Linked DNA regions of Homo sapiens: region 2 is linked to region 1. The links are contacts of gene promoters, found by promoter capture Hi-C in human tissues and cell types (Jung and others, 2019). All regions are on one chromosome and are shown on one strand. The core of a region is centred on a gene start or on the middle of the fragment in contact, and the rest is flanking DNA. Distances in the headings are between cores, read along the strand shown.

What was found. The method cuts DNA at HindIII sites, captures the fragments that hold promoters and counts their contacts. A contact is called where the count stands out against the background at its distance.
Region 2: a fragment that was not itself captured here is called in contact with the fragment with the promoter of RCBTB2 in region 1 in 1 of the 25 tissues and cell types used here (lymphoblastoid cells).

What each region holds. Positions count from the first base shown.
Region 1 is chr13:48,528,210-48,534,574 of GRCh38, reverse strand. It overlaps RCBTB2 (RCC1 and BTB domain containing protein 2), which reads left to right and starts at 1,495. Exons shown (of 15, transcript NM_001268.4): 1 at 1,495-1,547. LOC124903174 (a long non-coding RNA gene) reads right to left here. Exons shown (of 2, transcript XR_007063795.1): 1 at 2,526-6,365. RefSeq lists silencers at 1,280-1,329, 1,440-1,839 and enhancers at 1,880-2,119, 3,010-3,179. The HindIII fragment of the contact is 15,092 bases long and covers 1-6,365 here.
Region 2 is chr13:46,544,115-46,549,724 of GRCh38, reverse strand. No RefSeq gene overlaps it. Among named protein-coding and RNA genes, the nearest start is that of LRCH1, 6.2 kb to the left of the region's middle. The HindIII fragment of the contact is 4,868 bases long and covers 392-5,259 here.

The sequences.
Region 1 (6,365 bases), core at 246-2,745:
AGCTAATTGTCAGGCTTCAGCTGAAGCACACCGTAAGGCCTGCATGAACTTCAGCTGTCCATAATGCGTAAAAGACCAAGTGCGCAAGGCAAACAGATCTTGCCATGGTTGCTGATGAAAGAAACTTAATCTCTTGGGGCCTGAGTTGCCTTATCTGTAAAGTAAGGATAATCCTTGCCTTACAGGATTATTGTGAGCTCCAAATAAGATAAACCTCTTGGCACACAATAGGTGCTTAAAAAAAAAATGCCAGCTATCATCACTGAAGTGAGCTTTTTCTGAGAGCAAACCTGTTTAACTCATAAATTTCTTTCATTGATAAGATGTAACCAGTGGAGAAACTTGGGGCAGGCACACGATGCCTCTCTGCACTATCGCTGCAACTTCCTGTTAATGTATACTTACTTTTTCTTCCATTTAGAGCTCTACAAGAAATACCTGTGTACCATTTTGCGTGCCTCCTTCTGAGGCTCAGTGGGCTATGCTCAGAGAATAGAGATAAATGTCTGCCCTATGTAGCAGAAAGGCAGTTATACATTTTAGAATGATGTTTTTCCGAAGAAATGACAAAAGCCAGACGAAACAGACTGACACGGTCACTGTGGTTTGGAATGTTAGTTTTTCTCTTTGGCTTTACTACTTTTGGCTCTACACTGTAGAGGAACCAGTGTCCTCATGAAACAGCCAGTATAAAAGCAAGTAGCTTACTTCACAGGAATAGCTAATAACATTTAATTGTTGAGCATTTAACCAAAACCCACTCAGGTCAATTTAAGTGTAGTGCAGTGGAAGAAATTATTGCACACTGCAAAGTTGTGGTGCATTTTACTTAAATCTACAAAGGCCAACAGAAGTGCAGTGTAATATAATAAATTACTGCAAAATATAATCATAAGGGGAGAAGGTGGCTGTTTTCGAAGCCCTTGGCCCCAAGGTAACTGAGGTCATCCCCCTGAACCCCCCAGCACACATCCTCATTATTTCAGCATTTGTACTACAGGGGGCTACAAGACTTCCGCCCCACAGCAATGGGGTGAAAACGTGAAGTGATCGGAGCCCCCAGATAGAGGGGCCAGCAATAGAAGAAAAGCTGGGGCAGGCTGGAGGAGAGGGGCTGTGGAAAAGGTTGCTCTCAGCATCATACACGCCTTATCCTTCTAGGTCGGGTATCCACAAATTCCCAAAATTTGCGAGAACATAACCCTGGAGAAGGTGGGGGTGACCCACGGAGGAACTCCCTGGAAAAGCGGAGGCGGCCCCAATGGGAGACTCCCGGGGGTCAACTCCGAGGGGAGGGGGCGTCTGCGAGAAAGGGGAGGGGCGGCGGTGGGCAGCCTAGGGAGGAGAGGAGGGGCGAGACGCCGTCGCCAGCCCCCTCCTCTTGTCTGCGCTCCCTTCGTTTCCGTCTCGGCCGGGCACCCGAGCGCATCCCGCCGAGGCCGGGCCGTTTCAGGGGGAGGCGCCAACTCATCGCGGCGCCGGGCCCCTGACCGTGCAGTAACCGCTACCCAGGAGGCGGAGCGGACAAGGCTCCGGCCTGCGAGGAGGTAAGAGGGTGGAGGAGTGGTGTGGGAGGCCGAGGGGGATCGCGGCCGTGACGTGGGATGCTGTCAGGTACCACTGGGGCAGGCCACCCCTCCCCGCCCCTGCGGCCCGACCTCCCCGCCAGAGACAGCTGAGGGGCCCAGGGGACTAGAGCCGCGACCGTGCCACAGGCCTAGGCGTCGTCGCGCATGCGTAAAACTGCTGGCGGGAGTTAAGAGCTAGGTTCCGGGGCTACACCCAGCCCAGGCCGCAGGCAGAGGCGGCCCTGCGCATGCGCAATTCCGCTGGCGTGGGCCCGGTGCGCTGCTCGCGACTACATCCTGCCCAGGCCGCCGGCCCAGGCTGCGCTGCGCATGCGCGAGTCCTCTGGTAGGGGTCGCGTTTGGCGTCGTTCCAGGGTGATCATCTGCTCGGAGGCCGCTCTCATCCTAAGCTCCCACGTCTGGTGTGGCTGGGGGGGCGTCACAGGTCCCGAGGGAGCGTCCTGCCTGAAGTTTCTCCCTCCTAACCCACTCGCTGCACTGCATATGTTGCCGATGTTTTCATTTCTGTGGCCTCGACCCCTAGGCTCCCGTCCCATAAATCTAGTACCCCAGGTCCCGGGCACCGGCCCGGCTCACTAACTCAGTGGCAGTATATGCTTTCGACATTTGGTCCTGATGTCCAGGAATAGCGCGAAAAGTTTGACTTTGTTAGGCGAAGCCGTTTTGGAACTGCGGAGGGATGGGAAGAAATCGCCGAGCGTCTTAAGCCGCAACATAGTGCTCTGCTCAGCCCTGGAAATAGAGGTTTTCAGACATTGAAAACTTTCCAAGTGCTCCGTCTTGGCGGAGAAAGAACTGAGTTGGAAGGCTAATTTAGAATGAACTTTTTGCTTTTGTTCTTTGCAAAAATTACATAAAATGTTGCAACAGTTCGAGACCAGGACTATAACAAAACGCATTTCATGGAGCTACTTTGTACCGCGCTTGGCGACTTACCTTGTCAGAGCTGAATAAAAGTGGTTGAGTTCACAAACAGTGCTCTGGATCGTTGCTCTTTCCCCCAGACACTGTTTAACGTTTATTGAGCCTCCTGGCTTTGCACCTTCCTAGTATTGCGTTCCTGCTGGGTTTTACACCTTACTAGACAGTGGGTCTTAGTTAAGTCAGTTTCGTGACTCCTGGGGCTACTGTGAAGAGTTTCTAACAATGTCATTACTCTGTGCTTTGTAATCTTATATGATGTGCTGATACAGATATTTGGGGGCTGGAATAGAAGAGCCACTTAGGCTCAGAGAATGAGTATTCTAGGTGAAACGTAATCTCTTTATTTCCTGCTAGACAGTACATGCGTGTTATTAAGCAGCAGGTAAAAGCAACAAGAATGATACGTTCTTGCATACCCCACTTCCACCACTCAGGCCTTATTGCTCTTGCTGGGCTCGCCAAGCGGACCCTCATCCCAGGGCGTCTGCGTTTGGTATTTCCAGTATGCTCAATGCTCACTTTCCCACTCTTCGCAAATCTGCATGGCACAGAACTTTATTTAAGTCTTGAAACAATTGCCATCATTTCAGAGAGGTGACTACCTCACCTAAAATGTCTGGCTCTCCAAACTCTTGTACTGCTGGTTCGGCTTTGTAGCACTTAATCACCATCTGATATTATATATTTGTAAGGGTATGATCAATCTATCTCCACCATAATTGAAGCTCAGAAGGTATTTGTTAATTGTAGAAATAAAATTGGAAACTAACTTACTCCAGAGATATTTTTTTACTGAACTCAACCTAGATTCATTCATTTATTCAACAAAAATTGATTTTCTATCACGTCCTGTCCTTGATGCTTGGGATGCATCAATGAACAAAAGAGACAAAGATCCCTTCCCTCTGGAGCTTACATTCTAGCAAAGAATGATAAAAAACATATTTGTATATTAGGTTAGAAAAGTACAAATGCTATGAAAAAATGAAAAAGGAGAACAGAGAAAGGGAATTGGGAGTGCAGGTGTGGGTTGCAATTTTAAACATCATGGGTACGGTGAGTCTGAAGGATAAACCAAAGGTGATGTTTAACATGGGGAACTGGGTTTTAGAAATAAATGTTCTTCTGGGAGAAAACGTTCTTTATCGTGCTCTACAATGTCTTTTATGGGAGCCCACGGCATGACCCTTGTGATAAACGTCACCATTTTTTATAGTATATAGGTGAAAAAACATTTTTTTCCTAAATAAGAGTTCAAATTATTCAGGAGTTTACAGTTTAACTTAGCACATCAAATGAAGACACTGGACTTTTACAAGGAAGAGCTAGCCAGACATCTATGTAAATTGTGCTGAGAAAAACTGTACGTTGTCTCCACAGTTTTTGCAATTGCTTCTAAATGTCCCTCTGACTGTGGATGACTAGTGAAGATCTTTTCTAAGAATGGTCATTGCTTTTCTGTATTTGAAACTGTGTAGGAGAGGAGCTTAAATCACCTGGTGTGATGTTATGCTATAAATGACCTCTCTTACAGGTATCTGAATGAACCAGATAGACCTAACTAAATTTCAATCCATAATTAAAGAAGGCTTAGAGAAAGAGGGTGATGGAGAGGAATAATTTTAGAAAGTAAAGTGTGTTTCCCCTCATGTCCTTTACTTACATAGATTACAAATACTCTGTTCAAACACCAAAATATTATTAATCTAGGACCATAAATGTAAGGAGTCCATGGAATTTGCTTATGCCCTATGAAATTGTCATATTCAAGTTTGGTTTTATCAGTTGGTTAAAGTAAAATTTAAATGCCCCAAGATACTGCTACTGTTGAGGTTTACTTGGATTTAAATTACTACAAATCAGGCCGGGCGCGGTGGCTCACCTGTAATCCCAGCGCTTTGGGGGAGACCAAGGCAGTCAAATGTTCTTGAGCCCAGGAGTTAGAGACCAGCCGGGACAACATGGCAAAACTCTGTCTCTACAGAAAAACGAACAAAAAAAAAATGAGCCAGGCATGGTGGCACACACCTGTAGTTTCAGATACTTGGGAGGCTGTAGTGTGAGGATCACTGGAGCCGGGAAGGTTGAGGCTGCAGTGAGTCATGATCACACCATTGCACTCCAGTCTGGGCAATAGTGTAAGACCCCATCTCATAAATAAATAAATAAATATTGCTACAGATTAAAATTGTCCAGGAAAAGGTAGATTGGAGACCAGGAATTATTGGGGTTACAGAGTGACATTAAGGACTCTTGTTAAAGACTAAAAGAGAGTTCTACTTGGAGATTTTACTTCAAAGGAGTGGATGGCTTGCCTCCTGGTAAGGGATATTGATAATGTCCATCAATGGAAGGCTGAGATGATACTTCCAGCTTTCATTGTCTGGAAGGAACATGTATCTAGTTCACATGGTGATCACATTCTAACAACGTGAAAGTTTCCAGGAAACTTAAACCATAATAATTTTTCAGCATTAATTTGACATTAGAGTGGGTTTCTTTTACGTCTTCAGCCTTGCTAATTGGCCTGAGCTAATATCTCTTATGTATATCTCCCTATGGAAGATGTTTTGAGCTAACAAGTACCAGTAGGAGATAGTATGTGAATAAAACATAAATTTTGACTGCATTATAATATGTCCTGTATTATGCTGCGTGTATGTATGTATATAATACTGAACAAAACCAATCTCAAGTGGAAATGAGCCAAGGCCAAGAGGGCCTGCCATGTTGAAGGAATATATATGCTGTGGGTCAAAGATCTTTAACAATTAGGATCTCTGTAGCAGGCGTGTTAAGATTTTTTTTTGAAAAATTGGATTAAATCTATAAGGACCGAGATTTAAAATGGATTTACAAATGAGATCTCAAATCTCAACTCACATTAGTGCATATAACAACTTAAAAATATTTTTATCATTTATGTTGGTTATTTTTCATATTTGAAAATGACACTTTTGCCGTGTGTGGCTGAAAAGACTGAAGTTGTCAAGCTCAGTAATCTTTTCAATTAAATACCGCTTTGCTTTGTACTGAAGATCTGACTCATCACTCTTGTTGAAATTTGGAAAACTTTTTAAAAAAACAAATAATTAAAATAGCAACAGGGTTTCTGTATTCTACACAACAGTTTTCTGTTTTTCATGAACATATGACAATACCATTTCCTTTGAGGTTGTGTGCTAGTTTTAGTTATGCTTTTAGTGTTTTAGTTTTGTCCGTCCTGTTTATAATTGTTCCATTTTAATTAGCCATGTAGGTATTTTACTGTTACTTGTCATTGATTTTAGACATCTCATTTAAGTGGAGCTAATATTACAGCTAACACTATCCCTTTTTGCAAGTGAAAACTGGGATCATGTTTTATTGTATACGTATTTATATTATTTATAACTTGAAGATGACCCTTAAAAAGCTATTAAAGATACTATCTAATGACTCACCTAAGGATATATTTGGGAACCATCATTATCCTATTGAAATTTATGTGGTCTGCAGCTCATTAACACACCGATGCTGTAAACTGCATGCTGGTACCCTAAAAGATATCGATATTATTTAATTTCCTGTTTCTTTTGATTATAAAAGCATCATCAAATGTGTTACCCACCCAGATGGGATAATTTTAAGCATAGAGTTCTATATTGAGAGAATTCTAAAAATATCAGTGTGTTTCTCAAGCATAGCTTTAGAGTTGATCTCATTAAGTTGAATTTTAAAATATGTAATACTGGGACTTCTCTGCAGGAATTGCTATTTTTTTTCACCCCTTCTTCTGTAATCACTTCTAAAGAAGAATTATTAGCATTTAGAAGCCCCTGATTAACTGCAAAATGTCAGCATTTAAAACCT
Region 2 (5,610 bases), core at 1,576-4,075, 2.0 Mb after region 1:
CCACCATGCTGGGCTAAATTTTGTATTTTAGTAGAGACGGGGTTTCACCATATTGATCAGGCTGGTCTTAAACTCCTGACCTCAGGTAATCCACCAGCCTCGGCCTCCCAAAGTGCTGGGATTACAGGCACAAGCCACTGCACCCAGCCCCTTTACATTTTTAAATACTTCATAGCTGACTATTGTCCAGACGCAGTTTTTTTTTTACATTCTGTGCCCCAAAGTCCCCAGCAAAAAACCTCAACCCCTTCATAGAGGCTCATACTTCCTTCTCTTGAAGCAACAAAGCAGTAGCTACTAGCCTCTGGCCACTTTATTTCCCTGTTTTCTCCCAGATTAAGGTGGAGTTCTGGCTCCTAGACCAGGGAGACTTTATTTAAGTACTCCTTTCTACAGCAGTTCCTGCGGAATAAAGAAACTGCAGAATCTATGCCTCAAGATAGGATTCTCAGAGAAGCTGGCTTCTTGACCATTCTCTGAATGACAATAGAGGAGCAGTCTTGATAAATCAATAACCTATACTTTAGTCCTTGTTCTGTCTTCATAAATATGTGTACATGGTCTTATGAAATGTCAATTTTCATTTATGTGTGATTTTTGTTTTTAAATCAATGCTTTTTAAGAAATTATATGAGATAATATAACCAATTGTATAACGGAGAGACAACATTCTGACCTAGAACTTATGAGTGATAATAGGATTTTGAAAAAACCTGAGGAAAACTTGGTTTGGACCACTGTGGATTAGAAGCTGATTGTAATGAAAAGAATATTTTGGTAACTCAAAAATGGAAAACCAATCATATGTTCTCACTTATAAGTGGGAGCTAAGCTATGAGGATGCAAAAGGATAAGAATGATACAACAGCTGGTCATGGTGGTTCACGCCCATAATCCCAGCACATTGGGAGGCCGAAGTGGGCGGATCACTTGAGGTCAGGAGTTTGAGACCAGTCTGGCCAACATGGTGAGACCCCATCTCTACTAAAAATACAAAAATTAGCTGGGTGTGATGGCGTGCGCCTGGAGTCCCAGCTTCTGGGGAGGCTGAGGCATGAGAATCACTTGAACTGGGAAACGGAGGTTGCAGTGAGCTGAGATTGCACCACTGCACTCCAGCCTGGGCGACGGAGTGAGACTCTGTCTAAAAAAAGAAAAAATAGAATGATACATGGACTTTGGGGGCTTGGGGGAAAGAGTGGGAAGTGGTGAGAGAGAAAGGACTGCACATTAGGTCCAGTGTGCTCTGCTCAGGTGATGGGTGCACCAGAATCTCAGAGACCACCACTAAAGAACTTATTCAGGTAACCAAACACCACCTGTTCCCCAAAAACCTATTGAAATAAAAATAATAATAATAAAAGAATATTTTGGCTTAAGGAGGTTGAGATCTCCTTAAGTAAGTTGTAAGGAAAAAACATCAGTGAGCAGTAGCAAACCCTCTGGTTCCTGCCAGAGGTTTAGGAGGCTTCCAGGTGAATTCACTAGAAAATAAGGACCAAAAGGCATCAACTAATAAGACTTTAACTTATAAAGAAATAGATTTTTAGGGCGGGTGCGGTGGCTCACACCTGTAATCCCAGCACTTTGGGAGGCCAAGGCAGGCGGATTCACAAGGTCAGGAGATCGAGACCATCCTGGCCAACATGGTGAAACCCCGTCTCTACTAAAATAAAAAAAATTAGCCAGGCATGGTGGCATGTGCCTGTAGTCCCAGCTACTCGGGAGGCTGAGGCAGGGGAATCGCTTGAACCCGGGAGGCGGAAATTGCAGTGAGCCGAGATCGTGCCACTGCACTCCAGCCTGGTGACAAAGCAAGACTCCATCTCAAAAAAAAAGGAAAATCGATTTTTAAATACCTGACTTTAAAAAAAAAGCAAATGTAAATGTTAGATAACAGATAATATTAAAAAACAGCTTTATTGCAACTGGTTCACCTAAATGTTTCACCAGTTCATTATATTATGTTATTGGTTTATAACATAGGCATATTGTATTATTGGTTTGTAATATGATGAATATGTGAATTATTTAGAGGAACCAGTTATTTGTTTATTAATATAGTCATGTCTCTCTTAACAATGGGGATATATTCTGACAAGTACATTTCAGATGACTTTCTTGTTGTGTGAACATCATGGAGTATACTTACACAAACCTAGATGGTATATCCTATTATGCACCTGGGCTATATATGGTATAGCCTATTGCAGCTAGCCTGTACAGCATGTTACAATACTGAATACTATAGGCAATTGTAACACCGTGGTAAGTATGCATTTGGGTATCTAAACATATCTAAATATAGAAAAAGTACAGTAAAAATTTGGTATTATAATCTTATGGGACGATCATTCCATACAGTCTGTCACTGACCAAAACGTCATTGTGCATCGCATGACCGTAAATCATTTAACTTGCATGAATAAACTGAAGCAGCATTATCCAGTGTGTGTGTCTCTGAACCTTAGTTCTTTAGGCTGCTAACAGGCACTATGCATAAAACATTTTTTCGCCAAATAAGTTTGGGAGACAAAGGGTTAATTTAAAAGTTTAGAAGTTGTTTTACTAACACACTTCTCTGAATCCTTGATATGCTAATGTACATTGTGAACATGGAAGAAGGAAAGATGATTCACTGCAGTTTTTTCCTATATATTTGACCAATAAATCTCATCTTGCAAGACTGTTATCCATGGCTCACACTTTGAGAAACCCTGGACTGGGGTAGTCTCTCTCATGGATGTGTCATCTTTCGATCGCCAATTATATCGCAGTTCAACTGATCAAAATGTACCTCCAAATCAATATTTTAAGTACCTTTTCAGGCCTGTTGTTCATTAGGTGGACTTTAAAAGGACAAAAAAGTCTTCCTATTTGTAGTTAAGGTACTTTGCATCAAACTAAAGCAGTAATTTTCATGTTCCCCAGAGGCCGTTTTTAAGACTCTTGATATCATTACAGGGATATTTTCCGAACTTAAGGCTGTCATTAGGGTCTAGTCAGAGGCTCCCAGAGTGGTTGTTCTCTCCAGATTTAGCAGAAAATGCCCTCTGGCTACAATGGCGTTAAGCTTCCCATACCCAGATGCTATCACTATTCACATACACAGGGTTTAAACATTAGCTGTCTAACGCCCCAAGTTATTTCTCAAATCCTGCCAGTGCGACATCTAAAGAGAGGTCCTGCTAGACAGTGAAGCAATAGTGCAGAAGCAAAGGAACATGGTCATCTCATTTTATCTGTTGGCAAATCAGGTCAACACGTAGCACAACTCACCACAGTTCAAAAGTAAAACCAGTTAGGACTTTCTTCGATTTCTGGTTGCTGCAGAGAGAGTAAAGCCAGAATTAGCGTGGTTGGGATAGAGGACTGACCAGAAAGGAAGTCCACCCCAGTGAGGGTGAACAGTGTTGGAATACCTCATAATACCCACAGGGGAGTGTTACCTGCATGTCTGGTCACAGCCGCTGGAGTCCCAGATACTCTTCTAAGAGCAAGGATCATCTTAGACTATGCCAATTGAAGCAAATCATAAATCATTGCCTGGGGGGATGTATGGCACAGCCCACAATGGGAGAATGCCCAGGAGGTAAACAAGACCCTAGCCCAACTGGCTAGGATTCAAGACAGGGCCCCAGGCATGATGGTGAGCCATAGTCCAATCAGGAAGCAATTGTCTAGCACAGAAAGTCTCTGCAAGGAGGGACAAGAAACTGCTATCAGTGATGGCTTATGGGAAAGAAAACTGGTAGAATGGGATGAGAGAAAGACTTCTCTTTCTCTAGATATCTGTTTGTTCAGTTTTACCTTGTGCATCTATAATTAATCAATATAATAATAAATCAGTTAATTAATTACATTTTAAAAATACCAATTCAGAAGATTGAGTTTGCAGCAATAGTCATTGAAGTCATGGGTGAGTCCCAAGGAAGATGTAAATGAAATGATACTCTGCAGGATGAATTGGAATTGAAGAAGCAAGCCAGAATAGTGTTACCAGGTATAGGAGGTGTGACAAAGGGTGCTTGGACTAGGATGGAGCACAGGGCATGCATAAGGATGGATGGACAAGAAGTTTTTGAAAGGAAAAGACCACAGAGTCTGTATTCAACAAAGATTTGCTGAACCGCTTCTAACTCACAGGTAATGTTTGGTACTGGAGTTGCAACAGAGAGAGCTCTGTCCTTGTCCTGCAATAATAGCAAATGCAAGAGGCAAAGACTTGGGGGACACAGAAAATCCTCTGTCTTTGAGAGAGTAGTTCTAGGACAGTTTATCAACATCCAAACTGCAGAGGTAAGGAGAAGGCAAAGAAAGTAGAAAGAGTAGGTGTAAGTTACTTACTCCAAGCGTTTGGGGGCTAGAAGAAAGAAAAAGATTAATAGTTGACTAAAAAACAAATAAAGCAGAGAAAACTGGTTTAGTTTTTAAGATGGGGAAAATTTGAGAAGATTTGAAAGGAGAAAAAGAAAGAAAAGGCCCGTGAAGAAGGTAAGATTGGTGAGCCCAGGAGGAGAAAGTGGGATAAGGATGGACTGGACACTCACAGGTGAGACATCCAGGGAAAGAAAGGAGATGAGAATTCAGGCGCCTCCTCTGATCCTGGATTTAAAAGATCAGGAGACCTGAGTAAGAACACTAATATGCCAAAGCAACAGTTCAGACACTTTAGGGACTGTATGCTGATGGGCCAAGAGTCTGAATATATCCCATCTGCTAAGAGCAGAACAGGAGGTTGGCAGTGGGAAGGGAGATTTGTGAACAATTCAAACCAGAAACCACAGATCAGGTGCCCATTGTACTCAGAAATATTTACTCTTTAGTTTTCAGCCCTAATTAGCATATTAACCTGTCCCTGAATTATTGATGCTACCCACAAGTGCTGTTTTTCCCCTTGAATGTGCCTATTTGCTCATAATACTTCTATGGACTGCAAAACTAAATACTCCTCTAAAACATATAACTTGGTGTTTAAGATAGAAAAATTAACTGGCTCCTAATAAGGACCAGTTGTCTCCAAATACCTTTCTGTAGACAGGGACACACCAGAGTTCAGACACAGCCTGTCAGCTCCTCAGCCAGGGAGGCCTAAGGAATCTAGCCCAGCTTCCCCATACTACAGATTGGGAAACTGAAATAAATGCATGAAGGTGAACTACCCAATGTCATGCATCTGGCCAGTGCAAAATGTTGCTTAAAACTCAAGTGTCTATTTCCTATACAGTGTTTTTTCTTTGTCCCTGTTAGTGGGAATAGAAGTCACCAATTATGTCACTACCTGCCATGCTTGGGGATCTGCTTGTGTCCTTCCATCAGTGGTTCATTTGCTTTCACTCTGAGTGGCTTGTTAAAGGGCTGTGGTCTAGGGTGCTGGCGTACAGGGCTGACGCTAGGTAAGAACTGTAGTCAGAGCTGGTCCAAGGGACATGAGATGCTCTTGCTAGTTGTCTCTGGGACAGGACAAGCCTTGTACCCTGGTCAAGCTGAGAGGCAATATTGAGTACCCAAAGTCCAGGCATAATACAAGGCCGTGATTAGCTAGTCTACTTCCTGTAATGACCTTTCAGGATCCTTTCTGCCATAATCAGAAAGGCAGGGTTCCCTGAA